Linked DNA regions of Homo sapiens: all the other regions are linked to region 3. The links are contacts of gene promoters, found by promoter capture Hi-C in blood cells and fetal thymus (Javierre and others, 2016). All regions are on one chromosome and are shown on one strand. Each heading gives the region's core, a stretch centred on a gene start or on the middle of the fragment in contact. The rest is flanking DNA. Distances are from core to core; before and after follow the strand shown. Region 1 overlaps CCDC146 (coiled-coil domain containing 146). Region 2 overlaps PTPN12 (protein tyrosine phosphatase non-receptor type 12). Region 3 holds the start of GSAP (gamma-secretase activating protein). Region 4 overlaps CCDC146 (coiled-coil domain containing 146). Region 5 overlaps PTPN12 (protein tyrosine phosphatase non-receptor type 12).

Region 1 (2,700 bases), core at 145-2,644, 220 kb after region 3:
ACAGAGAAAACTCTGTCTCAAACAAAAAAATAATAAAATTTATTCAGTAGGCTGGATTCTACACAAAGTAATCTGTATTTGGGCCATGATTTAAGCACATCTGAAGGTATATCACTCTTTTCAGGCTATAATTATTTGGGTAATCTTCATTCTGAGACAAACTTAATCTATATCATTTACTTTGCAACAGAACAACCCTACAGCATTTTGGTTCCCAGACTAAGGGAACTAATATCTATATAATTAAACTTGTTCATTTATCATTCATGAAATATAAAATACTTGTCATTTAAACCGTTTAAAAATGTGGTAGCATAATGTCACCCCAAAAAGCATTCAGAAAGCAATGTAACTGTGAAGACCAGGGTTTAAAGGTAATTCATTTATAGTTTATAACTCCTTAGATGTTTGATGTTGAAAACTGCTTTAACATGAAAATTATCTTCCTCTGCTCTGTGTGAACAATAGCTTTTAATTTAAGATTGCTCACTACTGTACTAGACTACTGGTAGGTTTTTTTGGGGGGGGTGGGTAGGGATATGTGGGTAATGAAGCATTTACTTACAGGCTATCATACTCTGAGGCCAATTTTATCTCCAAAGCAATAATATCATTAAGTGATTCACTTCATAGAAGGCTAAGTTTCTCTAGGACAGATAGAAAACATGAATTTTGAAATATATAGAACAGTAGTTAAAATACTATATATTTCAACCCTGGCTGGTAGATTGCTTATTTTACTATCAGAAACTAAAAGATAGATTTTTACCCAAACAGAAGTATCTGTAATTTTTATAATTCATCAATTCTGGAATGCTATATATAATATTTAAAAGACTTTTTAAATGTGTTTAATTTCATCATCGTAAAAAGGGATCATCTCAGAGAGAACAGCAGTATTCTGCGTATTTTTAAAAATGCTCTAGAGTAACATTTGAAGTAATTCACTGTAGTGTATGCCAGTCCTAGAAATAATTTTTTTAATTTCTGGTGTCTGTTTCTAATACACTAACCAAGTTTTCAAAATATATTTACAAAGATGCATCTTTACCCATTATTTTAAAATGATTAAGGAGGATAGTTGCTTCAGGTAACAAGCTAATTTTTCAAATATTAGGCCCTTACAGAACTATTTAGTCAAAAAGTAAGATATTCCTTTAAAATATATAACCCAAAGCTTTCAGTTAAACATGATATATCACAAATACTATTAAAATGTTAAAGAGAAATGCAAATAGCATTAAATGATGACCAAAATGTAAAATATTGTAGATTTCAAAAGCTGTGTCTCTATTAGGTGGGATACCAAATGTAAATGATGTAACTGACGTTGTTTTTTACTTTTTACTTTTTAAAAAAGACTAAAAACGTTTTGATATTATACAATGTATTTGTTTCAGATAAGGTCATTGTCATTTAGTATATATAATTAATATATGTACAAGTTTAAGTAAATTCCTGTGAGTAAAAATGGACTTATCACAAAACATAGTTCTAAAGAAAGGTATATGCTCATATACACGGTGTCCATTAATTTAATGGGAACTAGGTATAACTTCAGGAGAATTTGGCAAATAATTCATTAATCCATGTAAATATTCAAAAGCTTGTTCTATCCACATTATTTCAAGGGATCACTTTATTTTTCATTATACTTTCACAGCACTTTTCTAGTAAATTCTGTAACACAGAAATTCCATTTTGGAATCATTTCATGTTACCAATAATTCTAGACTTTTATAACATTTAACATGTTGATGGAAATAGATTACATCTGCTAGAACCTTTTGCCTTAACTATTCACCAATATATGCTAATATTCATAAATATGGATTGACTGTTTACAAACATTAGAATCTTGTCTTGGTTCCATTTTGATGGCTAATATTTGTTATCTTAATTAAGACTATTTCTGAGGTCATGATTACTTGAAAATATTGACTAAAACTGGGTCCTTAGAAATTCCAGGTGGAGCTGATTTACCTATGACTGAGGGGAAAAAAAAATCAAATTTTACTGATAATAGTAATGCTCCAAATGAATTAATGACACATCTGTTCAATAAATAAAGAGCTTAAATATACAAAACATAAGAAATCTGGGCAACAAAACTTGTGGTCTTTACTTTTGAATAGCTACCCAAGAAAAGGTTTTAAAGGTAAAAGTTATGAGTAATGTCATCACAATAAGCTCTTGTTTAAAATTCTTTTCTTTTATGTATAATTAGGTTTATGTTTCATGTCTTTTTAAAACCTTATAAAAGATTTAATTATCACATCTATTCTTCAATGTGGAAATATTAAATATTGTTGGTTGTAAAATAATATTTATGTACTTACTTGTGTCTGAAAAGTTGTAAAATGCTTACCTCAGCTATACAATATCTGTGACTCTGAAGACTTTAATGAGTACTATTTCATTAACAAGAAGTCAGAGGCAAATAGAGGAACACCATTATCTTACTTCCCTCTAGAATACTGTTGAAACATTTGAAATACAAAAGTTTCAGTTTCATTTTGTGGCATTCAACTTCCTCTCCTCTTTTTCCGTTATTAGTGTTGCTGCTCTGGTTAGCCCTCTTCATCTCCTTAGGACAACACAAACGCATCTGAATAGTCTGTACCTCTGGTTTCAGTCTATTCCAGTCCAACTTTCATCCCTACCAGGGGGATTGTTCAAAAGTACAATTCTGATCATGTT
Region 2 (2,700 bases), core at 173-2,672, 170 kb before region 3:
TGGAATCAGAAGAATTTTGCAAGTACTAATTCTACTCCTTTATTGACCTTTAGTTTCTTTATCTGTAAAAATAGGAATAATAATCCTTATCTTACAGAGTTGTTGCATGTTTGTTAAATAACAGTGTATTTCAAATGTACCACAGATGGTAAAAGCCCTACACAAACATGATGTATTAACTATTCAATTTTATTAGAGATTACAGAAAGTGTAGTCAAATAATTTCTCCTCTTACCTTCCTATTTTAAACAGGTATAGAAAAAGAATGATAAATTTTCATCAGTTTCTAATATCAAGCACCTCATCATTTTAGAAAATCAGTTAAGTGAATGAAAAGCCTAACTTTATGGAAAATAGAATGATTCAGGTATTAAGAAATGATGCAATTTGTATCAAGGCCCAATAAAATCAAAGTCTCTAAGTGACCATCTAGCTTAAATAAACCTTTTAAGCAGTGGGAAATGCATTGGTTAATGAATTCCTAATTAAATCTTCACAGTTCCAAATACAGTAAATGGAGTTATTACCTATAGGCTGAATGAACTATAAGTTGACAGTAATGCTCACAGAGAAACAAAGTAGAACTGTCTGGTATGTTGGGTTAGCTAACATTTTAGAGGCTTAAAAACACAGGTAACTTCCAAATCTCATTTTCCAAGAGATGTTTACAGAAAATGATTAAATTAAATTCTCTCTTTTTTTAGATAGGGTCTCACTTTGTCACCCAGGCTGGAGTGTGCAGTGGTGCAATCACGGCTCACTGCAGCCTCTACCTTCTGGGCTCAAGTGATCTTCCCACCTCAGCCTCCTGAGTAGCTGGGACCACAGGCGTGTGCCACCACAACCGGCTAATTTTTTTTTTTTTTAATAGATGGAGGCCGGGCGTGGTGGCTCATGCCTATAATCCCAGCACTTTGGAAGGCCAACGTGGGTGGATGACTTAAGGCAAGGAGTTCAAGACCAGACTGGCCAACATGGCAAAACCTTGTCTCTACTCAAAAATACAAAAAAATTAGCCAGGCATGGTGGCACATGCCTTTAATCCCAGCTACTCAGGAGGCTGAGACATGAGAATCGTTTGAACCTGGGAGATGCAGGTTGCAAAGAGCTGAGATTGTGCCACTGCACTCAAGCCTGGGCGACAGAGCGAGACTGTCTCTCCCCACAAAAAAAAAAAAAAGATTTAAAAAAAATAGAGATGGGGTCTTGCCATGTTGCCAAAGCTGGTCTCAAACTCCTGGGCTCAAGCAATTCTCCCACCCTAGCCTCCCAAGTAGCTGGGATTACAGGTGTGAGCCACTATACTTACACTTGGACCTTAAATTATTTTTGAGAGTTTAAAAAACATTTTTTTAATCTTTTACCTGACAAAACTTTAATACTTTGAAACAGATAGAAAACAAGTTGTAAGAGATTAATTTAGTTAAGAATAGAAAGCGGTGTGACTAACAATGCCCCTCATTCAGATGAGCAGTAATAAGATTATATTGGTACTTATATTCCTGGTATAAAACTAATAATGATATCAAAAACTATGTGTTAAATATCATACATACATAATCTCTAACACTGCAAGGTGGGTATTATTTCCTTTCAAATGTGAGGAAACTGAAGCTCAGAGTGAACTGTACTGCACCATGGTCAAAATGCTTGTAAAAGGTAGGTTTGTCTGATTTAATTATCTATGCTTTTTCCACCAGGTCACATTCAAAGTCAAGATCAAAGTCAAGGTTATCAGATAATTTCATAGTTCCTAACTTGCTCATAATCTATTACTAATAAGACACAGTGAATCACAAAAACCTTTCGCTTCAAAAAATTATGTACTCAATGCTACTTGATTTTTCATCAATAACTTGATACATACTATGAGCTTACTAATATAATGAAAAGAGAAATACATCCTAAACCTTAACAGTAACTTAAAACATTAGGAGAATGACATTTAAATTCTCTTAGACAATTGATTAATAATATTAATGTATATATTGACAACCCTTAAATAGATAACTTGATTACTTAATAATTTCTCAGTTTTTATATTTTCTCATTTTATTCACTTTCTGTCCAACATTACTTAATACTGACATAGGAAATAGTTGGGAGTAATGGAATAAATTAAGGCTTCCCAATTATTTATGTAATATAACTGAAAGATGTATCTTTTGCAATATATTGCTTACTGAAAAAATTAACATATTTACAAACTAAAGATAATTTTAAATATATTAACTACATTAGTATTAAAAAACTTCAAATAAAATCACTATGTAATTTGTAAGTTTGATTTGTATGCCATATTTATAGAAGACCACACTTTATAAGTTTTATTTAAATATGAATTATCTGTAAATATATCATTACCTCCTACAGTGAGGACAGAATATGATGCTGTAGGATACCAGAATAGCTTTGAAATAAATTTTACTTCGACATAGCATAAAAATACCAATGTTAGAAAATCAGGGTAAGAAATTATCTTCTCTCAGTTTTGAAGATAGGAAACAAACAAAACATACTGTGGTATTAACAAACAGACTAATCAAGATATTCAGGCCTGGTGCGGTGGATTACATGGGATTATATGCCTGTAATCCCAGCACTTTGGGAGACAAAGGCGGTCGGATCACCTGAGGTCAGGAGTTCGAGACCAGCCTGGCCAACACAGTGAAACCCCATCTCTACTAAAAATACAAAAAT
Region 3 (2,700 bases), core at 103-2,602:
GAAGAGAATTTTTTATATCATCACTGCTTGACTATAAAATCAGTCCTGCCTGGCAAAAATAGAAGTTAACTGCAAAAATAAAAACAATGGAAATGTACTGACTTTAAAAAATTGGCCAACAGTGTTTCTGTATGACAAAGGCAACAAGCTTATTTGATATGAAATAGTTGCATTAGCTCCTTGGGGGCTCCAGTGGCCTTCCTTTTATTCACTGATAATATTAGCAGCTTCATTAGGCATTTATCTTAAATTTGCATGCACTTCCCGGGTGGGAGGACTTTCCTCTGTATATGGTGGTGAGTAATGGAGTTCTACCTGAAATCATCCATTACCTCAGTTGGAGAAACATGTCTCTAGGAGGGAAAAAAATTCAAGACTTTCTTTTACATTTGGTTGGAGTAGTTTTCAAACTTAGTAAGCCTAAGAATCACCCGAGGCTCTGGGTAAAATGCACGTTTCTGGTCTTGTCCAGGTGTAGAGATCAGGAGTCTGCATTGTAAAATAGTGCCCCAGATGACGTCAATACAAGTAGTTTTCAGACCTTAATTTCGGAAGCATGTGAAAAAGCATTCTTTATTACTGTATTCACTCATTCTTCAGTAATTGTCGAGCACCTTCCAGAGTGCTCTGTTAGACCCTGGTGGGAGGCAGAGGGTTTGCGTGGAGACTTAAGATTCAGTTTTCATGTCTCAAGGCATCAAATGAGATGTACTAGAGTTAAAAGGCAAAAAGGACGCTGTTTGTATCAAGCGCATTAACCCCTTTTAGCGTTTCTCTTACAATGGGATCACCTTCGTCATACGCTCCCAGTTGCTACTCATTACCTTAATAACACTAATAAAGCACCACCACCTCGAAGCTGGGGCGAATAGGCCCAAGAGACGGCCTACTTCTGTGGTGACCCTGAACTGCTCCAGAGGACCCAGCTCTCTCAAGCCAAGTGGTTTCCACACTTTGCTGCACAGTGGAGGCACTTGTAGAATAAAGAAAATAGGCCGACCCTCCAGGTTTGGAAGCCACTGGGCTAGCGGCCTCGCCAAGGCCCTGAAGCGCCCACGTCTTTGCGCCCTCTATCCTCAGCCCCGAAGGTGCGCGCGGAGGCCTCCCGCCCCGGCGGGCCTGGTCCTGGCGCCTGGTCCACCCCGCCCCACCGCTACCCGCCGTGCCCGGCTCCGGCTCCGGCTCAGGTGCGGGCCGCCGGCCGGGAGGAGCTGGTGCCGGAGCTTCTCAGGCCAGGGCGCTGCAGAACCGAAAGCAGCAGGGGGCGGGGGAGAGGAAAGAGGGGGCGGGAGCGGGGACGCGAGGGCGAGGCGGCCACGCGGGGCCGGGAATGCCCGCGGTGCGGGGCCCCAGAGCCGCCCGGTGGTCGTGTCCGGGCGATGGCTCTTCGCCTGGTCGCCGACTTCGACCTCGGGAAGGACGTGCTCCCGTGGTTGCGGGCGCAGCGGGCAGTGTCGGAGGCCAGCGGGGCCGGAAGCGGCGGCGCAGGTGCGGGAGGCGCGCTGCGGAGAGGGGTGGGGGCGGGGAGTGGGAGTCCCTCATACCCCCCGGACTCCGACCCGGTGGGGAGCAACCCGGGGCGTCGCCGCCCTGAGAAGGCTGGTGCGAGGGCGTCGCTCCCCTCCTCAGAGGGCTGTTTTGGCTTTGCCACCCACACCCAGCCACGGCGGAAGGTCTGGGGGCAGAGCCCGGGCCAGGTCGCCGTGGGGCCTGAGGCGCCTGGCTCGCTGCCGGCCCGCGGAAATTCGCCCTTGGCAGAGGGGCCGGGCCGCTGGCGGTTCCCTCAGCATCACCTCACGGCGAGGGCAGAGGGTCGTGCTCAGCTCAGCGGCCGCATCCCACCTCCCGGGGGGTTCATCGGCAGCGCAGGGGCTTTGCCAAGACAGGAGTGCTCCTGGAAGCTTCACGTTTTGAGAAAGAATCCGTGACCACCAAGCAAACCACCCTATACCTAACGGTGGAACAGTTTGTCCCCACATTTGCGAGACGTGTTTATGTGTCTGTTGAACCGTGTCCGTGGCTCAGGGGACATGGGCCTCGGCGGTGAGGCGCAAGAGGGCAGGGGCCGCCTCCAGGCTGCGCGCGGCGGGGCGAGAGCCCCCAGCCGCCCCCGAGCTCCGCACCTGTGCAGGCTGGGGCTGCGCGCGAGATGCTCGGCTCCCGGCCCTGCCACTCCGGGCTTTTTGATGATTTGGTAAGGGAGTGAAAGTGACTTTTGAGCCTTCCCAGCACTGATCTGTTTTAAAGAAGGGGAACTTTGTGATTTCTTACAAAGTTTTAAAAGTCTTCTATAAATATTGGAGCTTCAGAGCTTAAATGCAGCTTCAAAGCAATGATGCCTGTAGGTCTCACCTTGTGTGTAGGGCGCTGTCCACTTCAGTGAATTTGGAAGTGGGTATTAAATGACCCACATCTACAACTCCTTTCCCTTAAACGCTGGTGAAAGTTTTCTTGATGTGAGTTATATATCAAGTTGCTATCTTGTATCTTCACACTCTCCTATGACTATAGCGAAATTATTTGTAGGTTTCCTTGGCTTGGAATATTATTAGCTCCAAATAAGGAGTTATATGTTTGTGTAGCGTATGCATTGAGTTTGCATTAGTGTCATGCTTAGTAAGGCTTTACTTTTTTTCGAGGTGGAGAGGGTGGTCAAGGAAGAATTTTATACAAAAATTAGCTGGGCGTGGTGACACGCTC
Region 4 (2,700 bases), core at 187-2,686, 160 kb after region 3:
GATACGGGCATGCATATGGAAATAGATCGTCACTCAGAATGACCTATTGCACCACATTCTTCTACATCCAGATTGCAGAAAACCCTCACAGAAATCACAGAAGAGTCCACAGTTGTTCAAAGGTGTGAAGAAGGGTTATTTGAAGAGCTCAGTTTCAGTTTTGTGTGACAATTGCATTCCTGAGGTATAACGAATGCTAGAGCCAGAGGAAACTTGACAGAGATCCAGATGTGATAGGGACATGGATACATAAGAGACTGAATGGATATTTCAGGTGAAGGGCAGATTTAGACCAGGAGCCAAGTCTAAGTGGTTATTAGGTATGGGTATTTGAGGACAATTATTTTCACTTTTGTTTCCACTACAAGCTATTAAAATTGTGGCATGAACTCATAAGCAGTCCAGGTGGGCACACCTTGTCTACACTTCTATCCTGTCATTGGCTAAGTTTATAAGGATCTGCCTTTGGCCCTTGTGACAGACACATTGGCATTGTTTGCTGCACCATTTTCCCTTCCTGGACACACAGGGGGACTATATTTCACAGTCTCCCTTGCATTTGGATTGGAGCCATTGGACTAATTTGCCCAAGGAAGGTGAGTGGAAGTAAGTAACAAATGTCTTCCCCAGCCATGTTGAACTTGGAAGGCACGTGCTCCCGCTGGCAAAGCTAAGGACAGACGTGGCTGCATGACTTGCACTGGACTGTGCTATGAGTGAGAAACAAAATTCCATTGAGTTCTTCTGCTGAGATTTTAAGATTTGTTCTTATTGCATAGTCTAGCTGAAGCCTAACTTCTCCTTTTCTTATTCTGTATACCGTTTCCACAGTGCCAGTTACAGTGATGCGTTAAACATCCTTATTTCCAGTTCAGAATTTCCCTGGAGCTCCAAATTTTTATGTTTAATTTCTTACTGGGCAATTCCAGTTGTGTATATCAAAGGCCCATCAAATTAAAACTCATTATCTTCCCATCTGAAACCTACTGTTTTTCTATTCCTTCTTTTGGTAATGGCATTTCAATTCACTTAATTTTCAAAATTATAAACATGAGCGTCATTCTTGAAGCCCGTTTCTTGCTTCTTTCAAGATTTTTTCTTCATTTTTAATTTTCAAGTTTTACTGTGATGCATTTGGAACATATTTCTTTGAGTTTACCCTGTTTGGGGCTCATTGAGCTTTTTGAATCTGTGGACTTTTCTTTCACCAAACATGGGGAGTTTTCAGCCATTACTTCTTCCAATTTTTTTCATAATCATATACCTTCTCTTCTCTTACTGCAACTCCAGTGACATAAATTAGATATTTTGTTATTGTCTCATGGATGCCTATAGATCTGTTTTTGTTTGTTTGTTTTTGAGATGGAGTCTCGCTCTGTTCCCTAGGCTGGAGTGCAGTGGCATGATCTCGGCTCACTGCAACCTCTACCTTGTGGGTTCCAGCAATTCTCCTGCCTCAGCCTCCTGGATAGCTGGGACCATAGGCACGTGCCACCACGTCCAGCTAATATTTGTATTTTCAGTAAAGACGGGGTTTCACCATGTTAGCCAGCCTCGTTTTGAACTCCTGACCTCAGGTGATCTGCCTGCCTCGGCCTCCCAAAGTGCTGGGATTACAGGCGTGAGCCACTGCGCCCGGCCATGGATCTGTTCATTTTTATTCAAAATTTTTTTCTCTCTGTTCAGATTGGACAATTTTTATCTTCAAATTTACTGACATCTGTGTGAGAGAAAGAGCACAAGAGCGAGCGAGCAAAAGAGACTTTTTAATTCTCTTGAGAATCACAGCTCCAAAGGTTCCCTTCCCCCAGAATTTTGGCTCCTGTGGGCTCCCATTACATATGACCTCTGCTACTGAGACCTAATCACAACACTGTAGAATGCTCCCCTCCCTCCACACCTTACCACCATGTTCCTGAAGTCCTATTTAAAGCAATTCCTTTTACCCAGTACATCGTGTCTGGCTATCAAGAAAAAAACTGCAAGGCACACTGAAAGGCAAAAAACACAATCTGAAGAGACAGAGCAACCATCAGAACCAGATATGGCAGGGATGTGTGAATTATCAGGAATTTAAAACAACTATGACTAATAGGCTAAGAACGCTAACAGATAAACTCAATCCCGAAATGGGCAGTTTAAGTAGAGAGAAGGAAATTCTAAGAAATAATAAAAAAGAAATACTCAGCCAGGCATGGTGGTTCATGCCTGTAATCCCAGCACTTTGGGAGGCTGAGGCGGGCAGATAACTTGAGGTCAGGAGTTCAAGACCAGCCTGGCCAATATGGTGAAATCCCATCTCTACAAAAAATACAAAAATTAGCTGGGCGTATTGGCGGCCACTTGTAATCCCAGCTACTCAGGAAGCTGAGGCAGGAGATTATCTTGAACCTGGGAGGCAGAGGTTGCAGTGAGCCGAGATTGTGCCACTGTACTCCAGCCTGGACAGAGTGAGACTATGTCTCAAAAACAAACAACCAAACACACACACACACACACACACACACACACACACACACACACACACACACACAAATACCAGAGATCAAAATCACTGTATCAGAAATGAAGAATGCCTCTAATAGGCTTACTAACAGAACGAACTTGGCTGAGGAAGGAATCTCTGAGCTTGAGGATATCTTACTAGACACTACCCAAACTGGAAAAAAAAAAAAAAAAGACTAGGAAAATACCAGAATA
Region 5 (2,700 bases), core at 125-2,624, 220 kb before region 3:
AAAATTACAAACTATATTTAACGATCTTAAGATGACAGCTATTTCAACAACTGCAAGATTAGTTAACAAAAGAGTAGAAATGTTAAGCTATAACTGTTCCAATTCCAAAAGGACTTACTTCAGACTTTTTTTGTTCAGATCGTTCCTGACTTTGAAGTTCACTCCATTCCGATCTTACAGGTGTATCTGAGAAAAATGAAATCTTATTGTTATTAACACCTTGAATTTCTGAAATTTCTTTGCATTAAAGTAATACAAAAAACAGATCCTAAAGATTTTAGAAACTATCGCTTCCACAAAAATTTTGTAGTTTCTGGGTAAGCATATTTCTGAAGTTTCTAAAAAAAAAAAATTGTAGTTTCTATTAATTCGAGAACATTCTGTTTCCTTCCTTCAAAACCTAAGTAAATAAATTCAGTCATCAGTGTATTACAGTCTATAGATAATGTGACAGACAAGTGAAGTATACTGCTTAATCTACAGACAACGTGACAGACTTAGACAACTGAAGTATACCGTTTCATTGCTTTCAACATTCTTTTTAATTGTTGTTGAGACAGGGTCTCACTCTGTTGACCAGGCGCGATCTCGGCTCACTGGAGCCTCAACCTCCCAGGCTCAGGCAATCTTCCCATCTCAGCTTCTTGAGTAGCTGGGACTATAGGTGCATGCCACCTCGCCTGGCTAATTTTTGATTTTATACAGACAGGGTTTTGCCATGTTGCCCAGGCTGGTCTCAAACTCCTAGGGCAAATGGAACAGAGATCCACCTGCCTTGGTCTCCCAAAGTGCTGGGATCACAGGCATAAGCCATTGTGCTTGGCTCTTTAACATTTATCTTAAAATCAGTCAAAATTCACTTTGGGAGGCTGAGGCAGGCAGATCACTTGAGGTCAGGAGTTCAAGACCAGCCTGGCCAACATGGTGAGACCCTATCTCTAATAAAAAAATTAGTTGGGAGTGACGGTGTATGCCTCTAATCGCAGCTACTCAGGAGGCTGAGGCAGGAGAACAGCTTGAGCCCAGATCGTGCCACTGCACTCCAGCCTGAGTGACAGAGTGGAACTCCAACTCGAAATAAAACAAAACAAGGCCGGGCGTGGTGGCTCCCGCCTGTAATCCCAGCACTTTGGGAGGCTGAGGCGGGCGATCACGAGGTCAGGAGATGGAGACCATCCTGGCTAACATGGTGAAACCCTGTCTCTACTAAAAAAATACAAAAAAATTAGCCGGGCGTGGTGGCTCATGCCTGTAATCCCAGCACTTTGAGAGGCTGAGGTGGGCGGATCATGAGGTCAGGAGATGGACCATCCTGGCTAACACGGTGAAACCCTGTCTCTACTAAAAAAAATACAAAAAAATAAGCCGGGTGTGGTGGCAGGCACCTGTAGTCCCAGCTACATGGGAGGCTGAGGCAGGAGAATGGCATGAACCCAAGAGGTGGAGCTTGCAGTGAGCCGAGATCGTGCCACTGCACTCCAGCCGGGGCGACAGAATGAGACTCCATCTCAAAAAAATGAATAAATAAAAAATAAATAAATAAAAAGAAAACCAAATGAAACAAAACAAAAATCAGTCAAAATTAATATATTGGTAAAATGTACTTAGACAAGTGAGCACCTCCACTGAGCATGAGACACTGTAAATACAATCAAGCTGTTTCTGCACTCTTTTTTAGAGGATTAATAGGGAGAAGTATATTATCAATGTTTTAAAGTATCATCACTTTCTCCCAGTTCTGATACTCCAGTGGTCTTTTTTTTTTCTTCCACAGACGGGGTCTCACTGTTACCAAACTGGAGTACAGTGGTGCGATCATGGCTCACTGCAGCCTCCAACTACAGGGATCAAGCAATCCTTCTTCTTCAGCCTCCTGAGTAGCAAGGACTACAGGCACATGCCACCACACCTGGCTAATTTTTTGTTGTTATTATTATTTTTTGAGACAAAGTTTTTTGCTCTTGTTGCCCAGGCTGGAATGCAATGGCGTGGTCTCAGCTCGCTGCAACCTCTGCATCCTGGGTTCAAGCAATTCTCCTGCCTCAGCCTCCCAAGCAGCTGGGATTACAGGCGCCCACCACCACAACTGGACAGTTATTTTATTTTTAGAAGAGAGGAGGTATCACTGTGTTGCCCAGGCTGGTCTCAAACTCTTAGGCTCAAGCAATCCTCGCGCCTTGGACTCCCAAAGTGCTGCGATTACAGGTATGAGCCAATGTGCTCAGTCTACTCCAGTGGTGTTAAATGTCTTTCAGTTAACACCAATCCAGTGACGCCCACCCAACAGAAATGTTTACTGACCTAAATCTAAGGAAAGCAATTAATGTTTTCATAAATAAGTGCTACTTTTTTTTTTTTTGAGATGGAGTCTTGCTCTGTTGCCCAGGCTGGAGTGCAGTGGCATGGTCTCGGCTCACTCCAACCTCTGCCTCCGGGGTTCAAGCGATTCTCCTGCCTCAGCCTCCCGAGCAGCTGGGACTACTGGTGCATGCCACCACACACAGCTAATTTTTTGTATTTCTAGTAGAGACAGGGTTTCAGTGTGTTAGCCAGGATGGTCTTGATGTCCTGACCTCGTGATCTGCCCGCCTTGGTCTCCCAAAGTGGCAGGATTACAGGCATGAGTCAATAAGTGCTATTTTTAATGAATGAAAATACACCAGATTGCAAATACACTTATAATTGCATTTTTTTTTTAAG

Evidence for each region. Contacts are between HindIII fragments. The CHiCAGO score rates a contact against its expected background, and 5 or more counts as called.
Region 1: a fragment that was not itself captured here is called in contact with the fragment with the promoter of GSAP in region 3 in 4 of 17 cell types (total CD8 T cells, M0 macrophages, activated CD4 T cells and 1 more); the score reaches 5.7 in total CD8 T cells.
Region 2: a contact is called between a fragment that was not itself captured here and the fragment with the promoter of GSAP in region 3, in 11 of 17 cell types (monocytes, M0 macrophages, M2 macrophages and 8 more). The highest score is 15.6, in monocytes.
Region 4: a contact is called between a fragment that was not itself captured here and the fragment with the promoter of GSAP in region 3, in 1 of 17 cell types (total CD8 T cells). The highest score is 5.1, in total CD8 T cells.
Region 5: a fragment that was not itself captured here is called in contact with the fragment with the promoter of GSAP in region 3 in 15 of 17 cell types (M1 macrophages, M2 macrophages, M0 macrophages and 12 more); the score reaches 22.1 in M1 macrophages.

What each region holds. Positions count from the first base shown.
Region 1 is chr7:77,192,995-77,195,694 of GRCh38, reverse strand. The region is part of intron 2 of CCDC146 (coiled-coil domain containing 146); the gene reads right to left. FGL2 (fibrinogen like 2) reads left to right here. Exons shown (of 2, transcript NM_006682.3): 2 at 1-2,326. Among named protein-coding and RNA genes, the nearest start is that of FGL2, 5.5 kb to the left of the region's middle. The HindIII fragment of the contact is 429 bases long and covers 1,180-1,608 here.
Region 2 is chr7:77,589,040-77,591,739 of GRCh38, reverse strand. All of the region lies in intron 5 of PTPN12 (protein tyrosine phosphatase non-receptor type 12), which reads right to left. Among named protein-coding and RNA genes, the nearest start is that of PTPN12, 53 kb to the right of the region's middle. The HindIII fragment of the contact is 4,209 bases long and covers 1-2,700 here.
Region 3 is chr7:77,415,001-77,417,700 of GRCh38, reverse strand. It overlaps GSAP (gamma-secretase activating protein), which reads left to right and starts at 1,352. Exons shown (of 31, transcript NM_017439.4): 1 at 1,352-1,488. The coding sequence starts at 1,380. It overlaps LOC101927243 (a long non-coding RNA gene), which reads right to left and starts at 2,503. Exons shown (of 5, transcript NR_110073.1): 1 at 2,353-2,503. RefSeq lists silencers at 1,057-1,406, 1,627-1,836, 1,897-2,186. The HindIII fragment of the contact is 1,753 bases long and covers 151-1,903 here.
Region 4 is chr7:77,250,808-77,253,507 of GRCh38, reverse strand. All of the region lies in intron 4 of CCDC146 (coiled-coil domain containing 146), which reads right to left. LOC102723791 (a long non-coding RNA gene) reads left to right here. Exons shown (of 6, transcript XR_927688.3): 6 at 631-705. Among named protein-coding and RNA genes, the nearest start is that of CCDC146-AS1, 3.4 kb to the right of the region's middle. The HindIII fragment of the contact is 3,661 bases long and covers 1-2,700 here.
Region 5 is chr7:77,633,268-77,635,967 of GRCh38, reverse strand. It overlaps PTPN12 (protein tyrosine phosphatase non-receptor type 12), which reads right to left. Exons shown (of 18, transcript NM_002835.4): 15 at 119-186. Among named protein-coding and RNA genes, the nearest start is that of APTR, 62 kb to the left of the region's middle. The HindIII fragment of the contact is 5,173 bases long and covers 1-2,700 here.